4 separate regions of the Homo sapiens genome follow, and all the other regions are linked to region 1. The links are contacts of gene promoters, found by promoter capture Hi-C in human tissues and cell types (Jung and others, 2019). All regions are on one chromosome and are shown on one strand. Each heading gives the region's core, a stretch centred on a gene start or on the middle of the fragment in contact. The rest is flanking DNA. Distances are from core to core; before and after follow the strand shown.

Evidence for each region. The method cuts DNA at HindIII sites, captures the fragments that hold promoters and counts their contacts. A contact is called where the count stands out against the background at its distance.
Region 2: a fragment that was not itself captured here is called in contact with the fragment with the promoter of MYBL2 in region 1 in 1 of the 25 tissues and cell types used here (dorsolateral prefrontal cortex).
Region 3: a fragment that was not itself captured here is called in contact with the fragment with the promoter of MYBL2 in region 1 in 1 of the 25 tissues and cell types used here (sigmoid colon).
Region 4: a contact is called between a fragment that was not itself captured here and the fragment with the promoter of MYBL2 in region 1, in 1 of the 25 tissues and cell types used here (spleen).

The regions. Positions count from the first base shown.
Region 1 is chr20:43,664,743-43,668,363 of GRCh38, forward strand. MYBL2 (MYB proto-oncogene like 2) reads left to right here and starts at 2,372. Exons shown (of 14, transcript NM_002466.4): 1 at 2,372-2,561. The coding sequence starts at 2,542. RefSeq lists silencers at 2,167-2,461, 2,198-2,577 and enhancers at 2,167-2,461, 3,228-3,277. The HindIII fragment of the contact is 5,433 bases long and covers 1-3,621 here.
Region 2 is chr20:41,670,664-41,674,284 of GRCh38, forward strand. No RefSeq gene overlaps it. Among named protein-coding and RNA genes, the nearest start is that of CHD6, 54 kb to the left of the region's middle. RefSeq lists an enhancer at 3,197-3,336. The HindIII fragment of the contact is 3,117 bases long and covers 2-3,118 here.
Region 3 is chr20:44,953,540-44,957,160 of GRCh38, forward strand. It overlaps TOMM34 (translocase of outer mitochondrial membrane 34), which reads right to left. Exons shown (of 7, transcript NM_006809.5): 2 at 2,847-2,946; 3 at 1,529-1,681. LOC124904912 (a long non-coding RNA gene) reads left to right here and starts at 1,677. Exons shown (of 2, transcript XR_007067599.1): 1 at 1,677-2,081. The HindIII fragment of the contact is 7,243 bases long and covers 1-3,621 here.
Region 4 is chr20:44,888,960-44,892,580 of GRCh38, forward strand. All of the region lies in intron 1 of YWHAB (tyrosine 3-monooxygenase/tryptophan 5-monooxygenase activation protein beta), which reads left to right. Among named protein-coding and RNA genes, the nearest start is that of YWHAB, 5.1 kb to the left of the region's middle. The HindIII fragment of the contact is 5,673 bases long and covers 1-3,621 here.

The sequences.
Region 1 (3,621 bases), core at 1,122-3,621:
AATACAAAAAATAGCCAGGCATGCTGGCGCATTCCTGTAGTCCTAGCTACTCGAGAGGCTGAGGTGGGAGAATCATTTGAATCCGGGAAGTGGGGGTTGCAGTGAGCCAAGATCACACCACTGCACTCCAGTCTGGGCAATAAAGCAAGACTTGGTCTAAAAAAAAAAAAAAAGTTAAGTAATTTGCCTAAGATACCGCAACTGAATGGTGGAGCTGGGACTCAAACCCCAGGAAGTTTGGCTGTGGAGGCTGTGCTTTCAATGAAGTGGGCATGTCCACATTAATTACTTTATAAGGGGAGTGGGCGGGAGAAACCCTGAATTAAGTGATGTGGAAGCTTCTAGCACTTAAGATGTGAGTTAGTCTTCCTTCTGTGGTAAGTGAAGTTTGCAGCAGCTGGTGGCTGGACTGTCCCCAGGTGGCCAGCAGCTTCTGGAAGGGGGCTCTGAGGCCTGAACAGGGGCTAAAAGGCTGGGGTTTGATTTGGTTTCTTCAGCGTCCTGTCTCAGAGCTCATTTATCTTCCTCTCAGCACTGCTCCCAGGAAGTCCAGTGTGACTTGATCCTTGGTACTTGGTAAATGTCAATCTAATATAGAAAACCTTTGCTAAATCTCAAGGAAAGACAGTCTCACTGTCTGTCGCCCAGGCTGGAGTGCAGTGGCGGGATGACAAGGGCTTGAGCCCCTCGAACTCCTGGGCTCAAGCAATCCTCCTGCCTCTGCTTCCCAAGTAGCTGGGATTACAGGCATTCACCACCACAGCCAGGTAATTTCTTAATTTTTTGTAAAGACAGGGTCTCACTCTGATCCCCAGGCTGGTCTCAAACTTTTGGACTGAATCAGTTCTCCCACCTCGGCCTCCCAAACTGCTAGGATTACTGGCATGAGCCACTAAATCTGGGCTAATCTCTGGGAGTTTAAACCCAAGGTAAACAATTCAATGCAACAAACCTTTGCCTGGGGCTTCTTATGTCAGGTCTTCTACTGGGCCCTGGAGATACTGGTGTGCATTGAGAGGCCACCTGGACCTCAGGATGCTCCCAGTTCAAAGGGGGAAATGCAGAAGTCTACAGGCAGATTGTGGGCAGTGGACCCCAAATTAAATAGGAATCAGCCACGTGGGAGGGGCAGGAAGTGTTCCTGCCCTGGGTAATGGCTCAGGCAAAGGCAAAGAGGCCGTTTCTTTTGGCCAGGGCTGGGTGGTGGTCTGGAAGATCAGATAAATGTGATTGTGGAGTAAGGAATTTACCCTGAGGGAGAGGAGGATGGTTTTAAATTCTGGAAAGAGCTCACGCCTGCAATCCCAGCACTTTGGGAGGACAAAGCGGCAGGATCTCTTGAGCCCAGGAGTTTCTAGACCAGTCTAGGCAACAGCAACATAGCAAGACACCCCCTTCTCTTAAAAAAAAAAAAAAAAGCGCAGTGGCTCACTCCTGTAATTCCAGCACTTTGGGAGGCCGAGGCGGGCGGATCACGAGGTCAGGAGACCTATACCATCCTGGCCAACATGGTGAAACCTCGTCTCTACTAAAATACTAAAAAAAAAAAAAAAAAAAAAAAAAAATTGCCGGGCGTGGTGGTGTGCGCCTGTAGTTCCAGCTACTTGGGAGGCTGAGGCGGGGGAGTCGCTTGAACCCGGGAGGTGGAGGTTGCAGTGAGTCAAGATCGCGCCACTGCACTCCAGCCTGGCGACAAAGCGAGACACCGTCTCAAAAAAAAAAAAAAAAAAAATCAGCCGGGTGTAGTGGCGAGTGCCTGGTCTTAGCTACCCGTGAGTTGAGGTAGGAGGATCGCTTGAGCCTAGGAGGTGGAGGTTGCAGTGAGCTATGATCGCGAAACTGCACTCCAGCCTGGGCGACAGAGCAAGACCCTGCCTCTAAGAAAAATGAACAACAAAAAATAAAGTCTATTAAGGAGGGTCTCTTGGAGGCAGGAGAGGAAGCAGGGAGAGGCACAGGTAGGGTGAGGAGCCGCTTTAGGGTGCGGCTCTAGGGACCCAGTAGTGGCTTGGACTAGCGTGGGGGATTCCGCCCTGGCGCTTTCCCTGGCTGGCTCTCCCATGCTCGCGCCTCGCTCCCCTTCCTCGGTCTTCGCTATGTGGGATACTCCTGGGCCGCCCCGGACTGACACGTGAGCCAGGCCTCGGTCACATCCCGGCCCGCTCCACAACTCCGAAGTAGCGGCCGCCGCCCCTGTCCTGCAGCCGGCCCTGGAGGGTCTGGGCAGGTGCCGCCCCGCAGGCCCCGCCCCGCCCCGCCCCCTGGCTCCGCCCCTCACTCAGGCCCCTCCCCCGGCGCCCGCGCGCCAGGACTGGGCGGCGCCGACGCGCTTGGCGGGAGATAGAAAAGTGCTTCAACCCGCGCCGGCGGCGACTGCAGTTCCTGCGAGCGAGGAGCGCGGGACCTGCTGACACGCTGACGCCTTCGAGCGCGGCCCGGGGCCCGGAGCGGCCGGAGCAGCCCGGGTCCTGACCCCGGCCCGGCTCCCGCTCCGGGCTCTGCCGGCGGGCGGGCGAGCGCGGCGCGGTCCGGGCCGGGGGGATGTCTCGGCGGACGCGCTGGTGAGACGAGCCGGGAGGGCTTGGGCCCCTCCCCCTCCCTTTAACTCACCCCTCCCCCACCCAGATACCCCCGACCCTCCCCAGGCTCCCACCAAGCTGGGGTGTGTGTGTGTGTTGGGGGTGGGGTGTTTCCGCGGAAATGCTGCGTCCTGGGCCCTCTGAGGCAGGGGCGCGCGTAAAGCTGGGGGGCTCTTGGGCGTCCCTCGCGGCTCCCCAGGCCTGTTGGGCCTCGGAGCTGGGACGGGCGGGTCTCTTGGGACCCGGGCCAAGCCGTGCATGATGTCATTTTGTCTCCCGCCTAATTGCGGGATGGGGGTGGGCCGGCCGGTGTCAGCTGGCAGGGCCTTCGCCGGCGAGGGAGGCGACCCCTGGGAGCGAGAGGGAGTCTTCAAGTCCCAGCCAGTGGGAGACCGAGCCTGGGAGGCACTTGTTGCAGCCTAGTTTTGGGTCAACTTGGTGGGTGGGCTTTGCTCCTTAACATTCCGGGGAGCACAGAGTCCCCCAAGCCCTCTCCCCTGGACTGAGAAGGGTGCTGAGTTGGGGGCTCTTTTGTCTCTCCCACCTGGGTTCCGCGCCCCAGCTTGGTTCGGTTTGAGACCTCTCTTCCTGTTCCCACGAGGAGTTTTGGGCAGCTGGGGTTGAAGGTGCGGGGGAGAGAGAGAGTCCCTGGGGCAAAGGCAGGAACTGCGGTCTCCATTTTACTTATTTCCCCAGAGACTTAAGTGGCAGAGCTGAGCCCGGAGCCAGGTCTGTGGCTCCAGATCCCTGTCTTACACCTGTGCGCCTGGGGCCTGAGCTCCAAGCTTTTCAGCCTGCCTGGGAGACAGGACAGTGGGGTCCTGACCTCTTCCCTGCCTGGATCGCTGCAGCTCAGATAACCTTCGTTCCCTCTTTTTTTTTTTTTTTTTTTTTTTTGAGAAGGAGTCTCGCTCTGATGCCCAGGCTGGAGTGCAGTGGCGCGATCTTGGCTCACTGCAACCTCCGCCTCCCAGGTTCAAGCGATTCTCCTGCCTCAGCTTCCCGAGTAGCTGGGACTTCAGGCACGTGTCACCACGTCGGG
Region 2 (3,621 bases), core at 310-2,809, 2.0 Mb before region 1:
TTCAGTTCGGTGGCTCAGAGTTTCTGCTGCCACGGACTGAGTTCAGTTGGAGGATTGCTTTGCTTTTCCATCCCGCTCTTCTGTTCTGCACTGCAGCATCCCAAGCAGCCTTTTCATTGGATACCCTTGCCCCAAACCTCACACCCACACAGTCTGTGTGAGCAGCAGCCTTGCTGAAGGCTCGGTGCAACAGACAGCTTTCACACCCTGCCCAGCCCTTCTCCACCACACACTCCCAGCTCCCTCCTCTCCTTACCACTCCAGGTTCCCTTCAGAGGCCCAGTTCTCTGCCTTGAATTTAAAGAAGCAGTTGAAGTCTCCATCCTTTCCTCACCTCGGAGTCTACCTTGTTACACTCACAGCATCCTTAACGTGACTGATAAACAAAGGGCTACCTGGTTTTTCAATTTTTTAGTAGCAATGAACCAGCAAGGACTCTGAAATAGGAGGCTGTCTTAGGTTGAGTTTTTGGAAGCAGACTCTGAGAAGAGGATTCCTATAAAAATTATTTATTTAAGAAGTGTTCCTAGAAAAAACCAGTTGGGAGTGGGCGGGAAAGTGGGACCAGGAGAGAAAGAAGGCCAGGCAAAGGAACGGCAGCAGGCAGAGTCCGGGGAGGGCTGCTTTGGCTCAGTCTCTCCTGGGAACTCAGCAGACACCTTCCAGTTACCCCCACCAGGGAGCAAGAGCTGGAGGATTGTATTCGTATGTTTGTCAGTCACTTGTTAAGGGCTGTCCCAGGGGTATGTTAATTTCCAGGCTCTTCACCAAGAGATGCAGGTGCAGGCTGTTGGGTGTGAAGGCGCATGGGAAGCTGGTGGACACAGTAAATGGTCCAGGGATCTAAAGGGGCTATGGGCGAGGCACCAACAGTGTCTGCCGTAAGTCTTTCCTTCTTCCCTCCCTTACTCAACTTCATGAGTGGAAAGACAGTTGTGTGAACAATTTCCTCACTGATGTGGGTTCTGCCACTCTGTAGAAAACAAAAGCAGCTTGGTCAGGTGAGGTGGCGCACATCTGTAATCCCAGCACTCTGTGGGGCTGAGGTGGGAGGATTGCTTGATGCGAGGAGTTCAAGACAAGCCTGAGCAACATAGGGAGAGCCCATCTCTACAAAAAGTAGAAAAAAAAAATAAATTATCCTGGTGTTGTGGTGAGCACCTGTGGTCCTAGCTACTTGGGAGGCTGTGGCAGGAGGATTGCTTGAGTCCAGGAGGTGGAGGCTGCATTGAGCTACGATAGTGCTACTGCACTCCAGCCTGGAAAAGAGAGAGACCTGTCTCTAAAAAAAAAAAAAAGCAACAGCTATACTGGAGCTGGCTTGCTTACTCAGGAGGACAAGAGCTACTCCAGGCCCTTCTCCCATTTTCTGACTCCTGTCTGGCATGACTTATCTCTCAGGATGACTGCAGCTTGGGCATCAGAAGAAAGGGGTGAGCATTCACATCAAATCAGGGGTCCGTTCCTCAGAAATTCCACGTGGAGTTGCTCAGCTCCCCTTCTAGATGGGGGCTTCTCTGGTTATCTCTGAGAAAATGCCCCAACCCCACGTCACAGAGCCCTGGGTGCACAGGAGCTACCACACTGTCCTCATTCAGAACCTGCCCTATCTGCCCTGAGTTTGCTAGATGCAAGGGAGCAGGCAACTTATCCTGTTTGAGACACAGCTCTCCTGTTTGGGGCTCTCTGCCCCACACTGGAAGCAAGGTAGCGGGTGTAGTCATTAACCAAGTCCTGCCCTTTTGGGGATCCCTCTGACTGGGGATGGGAAATCTGCTGTTTTCCTCCTTCAGGAACTCAACCTCAGGTCCTGGAGTCATGTCCACCTTGACTCCGGGAGTCCGAGCTGGGGCTGCTATTGTGAACTCTGCTATGCTGGGCTATTTCTCAATAGCACTCAAGATTGCCTCCCTCTCCTTCTTCCCCAGCCTTAACTCCAGTAATGAGGGAATGATGTGGGAGAGGTTTATCCAGATCTTGGCAATCAATGCTTTTCCAATAGACTTTTGCTTGCTCTGAGCTGGATTCTCTTTCCCCAGTTCAACAGCACCTTCCTTAGCTGCTTTTTGTGAAAGTGTCACTGGTCAGAACACACATGCAGACAATTCCTCTTGACTTGCCACATAACTGAATATTGACTGTGTCAGGCAGTCGGCCAGTGGTATGGAGGCCCCTGAAAACCAGAGGCTGCTGCAGACATCGAGTGAGGCCCACAGACTGCCTGCAGTTTCTTATGCTTCTCCCCTCAGGTAGTTGCCCACCTTCTAACATCTCTGCCTCATGGGTAGCGACATTAAAAACATATGCCTTTATATCTTCTTTCTCTCAAAGCCTCAAAATGACAGTGGAGAAATGATAACAAATAAAACCATAAATGTATAAGGACAAAGAGTTTTAGAGAGGATATAGAAATAGATCATGAATGTCAAGAAAATTTTGGAAGGTGATCAATTAAGTCAGTGGTAATTTACTTAGAAGAGCAGAGAAAGTTAAAATTTAAACCTAAAAAGGGGGGTGGTACCCAGTGAAAAGAAGCTAGAAGATTTTTTACTGAAGTATCCCTATTGAAATATCCCTGAAGATGGGGATGAGTGTGATGGACCAGTTAAAAAGGAATTATTTAGGCAGATAGTAAGGGTAAGGAAGTCCTCGGTAAGCTTTTCCTTTTAATGAAAAGCAGCCTCCAAATCATTTTCTTTTCTAACAAAGAGCAGCCAGTAAAATCAAGCTGCAGACATAGAAAGGCAGGCTAGAAGCTTGCATGGGTGAATGCTGGCCATTGTGGCAATAGGAAAGGGGCTACCTGGGGACCAGGTATGTTCAAAATGATGACTCCATCTTCCCTTTTGCTTGCCAACCACGTGTGCAGTCGGGAGCAGACAACATGGCCCCGGGCAGACAAAGACTCCATTTGCATAAAGAAGATTAGGGTGGGGTGGCCGGCTTCCCCACATGCGATATAAACATCACACTTGGTCCAACCAACCTTAGGGCCCTTTCTAAATCAGACACCGCTTCCTCAAGCCTGCCTATGAAACCCTGTGCACTCCGCCGCAGGCCAGAAGTTCCGCTTGGGCGCCTCTCTCTCTTGCAGAAGAGAGAGCTATTTTCCTGTCTCTTTCTTTTGCCTATTAAACCTTCACTTTTTTTTTTCTTTTTTGAGACGGAGTCTTGCTCTGTCGCCCAGGCTGGAGTGCAGTGACGCCATCTCTGCTCACTGCAAGCTCCGCCTCCCGCCCGGCTAATTTTTTTGTATTTTTAGTAGAGACGGGTTTTCACCGTGTTAGCCAGCATGGTCTCGATCTCCTGACCTCGTGATCTCCCCGCCTCAGCCTCTCAAAGTGCTGGGATTACAGGCGTGAGCCACTGCGCCCGGCCGCTAAACCTTCACTCTTAAACTCACTCCTTGTGTGTGTCCGTGTCCTTTATTTCCTTGGCATGGGGCAATGAACCTCGGGTATTACCCCAGACAATGACAAAGCTTCAAGGGGTGGGGCTGAAAAATAGAAGAGACATCTTGGCTATCTGTTTGAGGAAGCAGTGAGGCTCCCAGATGTCTACCCCATTTCTACACAAGCCAGGCAACTATCCCCCCTATAGCTGGAGGGGATGGGACGTTCA
Region 3 (3,621 bases), core at 696-3,195, 1.3 Mb after region 1:
CCTCTGCGCTGATGACCCTCAAATCCTTATGTCTGGCCTGTATTTTCTTCCTTTGTTCCATGTAAATACCCAACCGTCCTACTTAGATCTCTAGTCTTATGTCCCACAGTCACCTCCGACTGAATGTCAATAATCTGAGTGTCTTCTTCTATTCCTCCCTTCTCGATACCCCGCAACCACTAAAGCTTGTTGATATACTTCCTACATGTCCCCTGACTGGTCCCATTGTTTTCTCTCCACCCTCTCCCCTGGATTGCTGCATGACTCCTTTCTATTCTGTTGCCCTTCATATCATCCCTCAACATGGCAGCAAAGAGCTTTTCTCTAAAATACAAATCTGCTCATGTTGCTCCACTGCTAAAGACCTTTTCATAAAGGCTGACTTGCTCAGGATTAAGTCCAAGCCCTGAACCCTGGGTCTTGTGTGACTTGGCCTCACCAACCTGTCCCAAGCTGAGCTCCTGCCTGCAGCACCATGTGAAACCGACTTCTTACAATTCCTGTGATCTGTCACACTTGCTCACCTTTGCACACGCTGCTCTGTCTTCTGGCTAACCCCCTACCCCATATCTCTCATTCTTAGCTCACCTCCTCTGAAAAGCTCTCTCTGGCCTCCCCCTCTCCCTCTCAGCTAGCTAGGTGGCTCCTTTCTGGCCTCAGAGCCCCCTGTGCTGCCTCCTACCATGGCGCTTATCATGTTGTATTGTGCTTGCCTATTACTGACTGGTGTCTTCCTTGAGACCGGGACCTCTATGACGGCAGGAAGAGGTATGTCTCAGTCATCAGCCCAGGTCCTAGAGCAAAGTCTGTCACATAATTGGTAGATTTTGTGGAATCAGATAAGTTAAAAAGGAGGCAAAGAGAAAACAAAGAATGCTGGCAGACAAGTCAAGCCAGAAATAAAGCACTAAATACATACCATGAAGTCCCTGTTAAGGGTTTGCTATTAGTGCAGTGTTTGGCTTTCTAGCCGCACACGCAGAGGGGAAACATGATCAGTTATACAAATGACAATATCCATGAGATAAAAGCCAATAACTGCTCAGAGACCAGAAAGGAATTGCACCTGGGGAACCTCTTGGATTGGTCACAGTGCAATATACTGAACCATGTCCACAAACCATATCCTTTTAGGCTTGTCATAGCTGCTTGGGCTTGTGTCTTATTCTTCTAATTAGCGTTAGCGCTTTGAAGGTAAGTGGGGTCTGTATCTCTTTCTCATTTTGGTATCCCCCACTGAACCGGGCACAACACCTTAAACAGTGTACAATAAATATTACTGTGTACATAGATACTGTGAGGCACATGTAGGCAAATATCAATCAATCAATCTTAGTAATTGACTCCCTGAAAACCTGCTAAATAAAAAAGCAGATTTTCCTTTCTCAGCTTCCCCTACATGCCCATCGGGAGTTTTTTAAGTGTAGCCAAAGGGATCCCCTCAGAAGACAGACAAGGCAATGGCCCGCAGCCAATCAAGAAGGACAGGGAGTTGCCGTGGAGACCACCTGCTGGGAATGGAGCTCACCTGTTGATGCCTTCTACGGCTGACGTCACATTATCATCAATCTGCAGCACAGTCTTATAGTCAACATAGGCCATAGGGTACTTCTCCAGAGCCTCATAAGCAGATGCTCGCCGCAGCAGGGGCTTAATGCTGAAGGGAACCAAGGCCAGTGCTCTAGAATAGGAGGCAAAAATGTCAACTGGCTGGCTGCTGAGCCACCAGGGTTTCCCTACAGTTTCTTCCAGGCAGGGTTATCTGGAGCACTCAGCGTACAGGAAGTAATTTCTGGCCGAGAGACATGGCTAAAAACGCCAAACCTCAGAACAGGGATTTTTCAACGTAGACTGAAGTGAGGAGGAGAAAGAAGGCAGAGAAACATGAATTTTGTTAAATGTGTGTGCACATGCATCAATTTTCATAGTTTCAGTTCCCCCAAAATCAAGAACAAAAGCCTCATGGCTTTCATGCTACTATGTTTTTTTACAGTTGTGGTCTAGTGGGAATAACAAACAAGCTTTGGAGTCAGATGGGGTGGTGTCTGAATTCCACCTCTGCTGCTAACTATGTGACCCAGGTAAATCACTTTACTGCCCCAACCCTCAGCAACCAAGTTCTGGCCTGGGACACATGGTAACCGTACCCCACAGATTGGTTGTGAACACTCAAAGAGGGAAATCTGGCACAAGGCATGGCACAAATTAATTCAGCACAGGCTCTGTGAGTATGCTCACACCCCTCCTGCTCTCCTGGCTATCACCAGGGCAGGAATCTAAAGCAATGTCAGAGGACATCAGATCTGAGAACACATTTCAGGTAAATGTGAGAGTTTAATGATGATAAAAGAATATTAGACTGGCTTGAAGAAAAAGAGATATGAAACATTGTTCAGTGTCCTCTAAAACTGGTCATTCATGAATACCATTTTTTTCCTTTCTCCTTCTGAGACAATCTATTAACCTCTATTCCTCCTTCTTTCCTTCGCTCCCTTCCCCTCACATACTCCCATCCCAGAAAAGCACCTGGGCAAGCCAGTTACTGGTCTGCCACTCCACCTTATTCCCAGGTTTCAAATTGCACAAAGACTTTACGGCCTGCTTCTAACTGCCCATCCCACTCCTTTTTCGGCAGCAGAGCCAAGACTCCAAAGATGCAAGTCACGGGCCATAAGGACCAAATAAAGACTCCCATTCTCAGTGACCTGGTGAAACTCAGTGACACTTTCTTAATATCTGTCCCAGATGTAATTGATGGGATCCTTCCAAAGAAGAAACAAGCCAGATTAACCCAGCCTCCTCTTCTGAGACCCTCAGGCATCCCAAAATTACCCTTGGCCACTTACGAAGTGCAATCTTTGATGCAGTCTCTGCAGTTTCCATCCTTCAAGTGACATGCTGCTCGGTTGGAGTAGAGAACACTTTCTTCTTCTGGGTCTGAAGAACCTGCCCAGATAGAGTGGGGAAGATGATCAGTTTGGAAAATGGGTGCCTCAGGGCATTAGGATACATTTCAAACTCAGAGCTCTTTGGGCCTTGTGTTAAGGCAGTAGAGATAACTATAACCTGTTCAGGCTTGTTGGTCTGCTGGGCTGGCGTGTTTGTCATTCTTATGTGACAGAAGGACACTGCGCTTTTTGCCATTCAAAGGGAACCAAGTATTTCCTCATTCACTCATTCCAGCACTGAACTTGATAACAGACAAAAGATAAACAAGAAATAGCTAGCTTCTGCCTCAAAGAAATCCATGCTGTAACTACTTGGGTTTGGGTGGATAAATGGATGGATAGGTGTGTATTTTATTACAAAAAGCATTTAAATCCAAGAAAGAAAGAAAAAAAAAAAAAGAAAAGAAAGGGAGGGAGGGAGGGAACAAGATGATAAACGTATGATAAATGGATTGACCAAAAGTTGTAGGGGCACAAAACACCCATGAAAGACATGAGACTAGTTTTACCTGGTCAAGCCAGGGAGGACTTTGTCAGGGAAATGATAATTGAGCTGGGTGTGATGGGAGTACAGAGAACTTAATCAGGAAAAAGTCTTAAGCTACCCCATGGGGAGAATTATTAGACATTCTTCTAAGGCAGTCCTTACCCTCAGGAATCGCAGAGGCTCAAG
Region 4 (3,621 bases), core at 732-3,231, 1.2 Mb after region 1:
AAATTAAAACATCCTGTTGTGCTACCTGCTCTTTCGGTGTCAACAAACTGAGTTTTCCTTTAAATGCTGGTACCTTAGAGAATGAACTAAAATTTCCTTGTAGAGATACTTTTAAGTTCCTTGTTTCTACATTTTTCTAGGGAAAGATGACAATTCACTAGTTAAGGGGCAAGAAATTATGGTTACATAATAGCAACCTTTAAGCTTTAGAATCCTTTTGATCTCTATGTGAATATGATCTTAGCAGTCATCTGTATTGCATGATGGAGAAACTAACGGTTGGAGCTGGATTCTGAGGGAATTTTTCTAAGGGGAATACTTGAGGAAACAGACTAAAAGTGCTTTCTGTCTCATGATATGTGTGCTGAAGGCCAATCATCTTACTGCTTTCTCAACTAAAAGATTTTCTAATAGAGGTGTGGTTATATGTATCTGATACTTGTAATGAGATGTAAATGATCAGTGGCCTCAAGTCATTCCTAGCAGATTGTAGGTTAGTTAACTTTTTTTTTTTTTTTAAATTCTGGCCAGTTCTTTATTATGTAAGTTTTTCCCGTACTGGTTAGTTTATTTTATTGTTTTCCCTAAAAGAACCAACAGGAGGTTATTTCTGAATGGCCTTGACCAGGACAAGAAGATTGAAGGCTACAATAAAGTAGATATGAGTCCTGTCTATTATTATTATTTGCCCTCAGCTAAGAGCTTTCCTTTAAAATTTGTTTGACATTTTGGTAAGTCTTTGGCATGTTTTTATGCTGTTTTTAACTCCTTGATTTTGTTTTTATTTTTAAAGCTAGATAACATTAGCTTAATAGGCCAGTTTTAAAATTTCACTGTAACAACCTTGTATAGTTCTTTTAAAAGTTGACAATTCTCTCTTTTCCTTAAGTGAGCATTGGAGTTCATAATTGATCTTTAGGAGATAGGGTTACATAAAGGAAAGAGCATTAATTTTAAAATTAATGTTGGTTTAGATCCCAGATCTGCCATATATAGCTGTGTGACCCTGAATGAGTTAACTCTTTGCATTTATAAAACGGGACAATGTCACCTGCCTCATAGGATACTTAGGATCAAATGCGTTTCTAGGAATCCCTGAGTGCTTTGCAGGCCATAAATGATGGATGGATATTTTTGTTATTTACTAAACGAGTTAGCTGGTTTGGGTTTCTGTATAGTGAACTTTTTGTATAGCGAACTGATTGGACTTCTGAATGGAGGAGATGGACAGAAAGTAATCCAAAGGCTTGTTGAAAGTCAGTTTGAATCTATAAATACAATGATTGGTAGCTGAAAAATATTAGTCAAAATGTATAGTGTTGCTCCTGATGAGAGCTGGCTGGCTTTTTTCAAAAAGTAGTCTAAGACAATAAAAACAGTCTGTATTTTATAGGTCAGATGTGTGCTACCTTCCTCTGTCCACGTAGGAAATAATTGCTTTTTCACTTTTTAAGAATGCATCAGTTGATCAAGCAGTCACTCAGTGTGCTAGGCCTTGTACTCCACATTGGGTGTCCAAAGATACAAGTCTGGATTCCTACTTTTTTTTTTTTTTTTTTTTTTTTTTGTGAGATGGAGTCTCACTCTGTCACCCAGGCTGGAGTGCAGTGGCACGATCTTGGCTCACTGCAACCTCTGAAGCCCGGGTTCAAGCAATTCTCCTGCCTCAGCCTCCTGAGTAGCTGGGATTACAGGCGCCTGCCACTGCGCCCAGCTAATTTTTGTATTTTTAGTAGAGACAGGGTTTCGCCATCTTGGCCAGGCTGGTCTTGAACTCCTGACCTTGCGATCCACCTGCCTCGGCCTCCCAAAGTGCTGGGATTACAGGCGTGAGCCACCACGCCTGGCTGGATTCCTACTTTAAGCTCACAATCCGGTGTGGGAGCCAGCAGAGACACTTGCATTGCAGTAAACTGTGATAAGGGCCATTTTAGAAATAAGCATAGGGAAATTGTTATGTGCCTTTCTTTTAAAAGTCTTTAAAGAAAGCAGAGTACGTGTAAAATAAATGAGGTACATAGTAAGTTTCCCTTCACTGGCTGACCATTGGTTTTTTAAGTTTTGTGTGGAATGTACTGTGGTTGCCATTTATTTGAGTGCTTACTGTTTTATATCATAAACAGGTTTACTCCTTACAGGAACCCTAGTAAGTAGATTTGCCTATGTTTTTTTTTTTCTTCACAGAGTCTTGCTCTGTCGCCTAGGCTGGAGTGCAGTGGCGTGATCTCAGCTCACTGCAGCCTCTGCCTTCAGGCTGCCTCAGCCTCCCAATTAGCTGGGATTACAGGCGCCTGCCACTATACCCGGCTAATTTTTTTATATATTTAGTAGAGACGGGGTTTCACCATGTTGGCCAGGCTGGTCTTGAACTCCTGACCTCAAGTGATCACCCTCCTCGGCCTCCCAGAGTGCTGGGATTACAGGCGTGAGCCACCACGCCCAGCCCAGATTTGCCTGTATTATGGATGAGAAAACAAATTCACAGAGGTCACATAGCCTGTGGACTTGGTGTGCGGTACTGGTAAATCAGACTGATAGGCTTCATTATGTCAGTGGGCCCCAAACTGTAGAAATTATTCATAAGGTCAACCAATTGGGCTGTCTTTATGGATCAGAATTAACATAGTGTCTTTTGGATTGATTACTTAAGCCAAGAAGTCAATTTATTGTCATATCTACCATTAAGTCACATGTGTAACCTTGCGCCTGTCACTTAACACCCTCAGTAAGTTTAATCATGGCTAATTGGACATAATTAGCAATGATATGCAACAGCTGATGTGAAAGAGGGAAGGGATTTTGAAATAATAGAAATGCAGTTTCTCTCCAAATTCAGTGTTCACTGGACTTAGTGCTAATGACTTTGTATTACAGATATGCTGTGTTTTGTTTCCTAACAAAGAACCTGCAAATGTTTGAATGGAATTAAATTTATTACAGGACTCTAAATTTTATATGTAGAATGGCACACAGACAGTTTTATAGTGGGTGTTTTTTAGTGAGTAGTTTTCTCTGAGAGCCAGGAGTGTTTAACTTTTTCTGGGTAACACCCACTAACCACCTGGTCCCACTGACTTTCTCAGTCCCTTCTGCAGTAGCTTGGCATCTGATTTTTCTTCAGCAGAGAGACTCCAGAACTAAAACTTCTGCTGTACAGTGCTGTGGATGCTCTATCTGGAATGGTACATCTGTGAATGCTGTTCAGAATATGTGATCAGTTCCTTACCCCATTGAAACATTCGAGCCTAGATTTTTCAGATTTTCTTGTCAGTTTTCTTCCTTATTCTCATTTCTTTATCTGCTTTGGCCTTTGATTTTTATCTCATCTAGAAAAACATACATGCACTTTATTAATAACATCTCTTTTTAAGTCACGACCTAGCTACCTTTAAACCTATTTCCTCTAGTTCTGTCTGGTTGGCTTTCTAAGGAGAGGCATTGTAACCCTTAAACGTGTGCTGTTTTTTTTTTTAATTGATGTGTAATAGATATACATGTGCTCTTTTCTTGTGTTTCTACCACTAGAGTTTAAGCTCTCTGAGGGGAGGACTACACTGCTTTCTTTTAAATTCCTCTCAATGAATAATCCAAAGAGTTCTTAGAAATTTGGTAGTTTTTCAT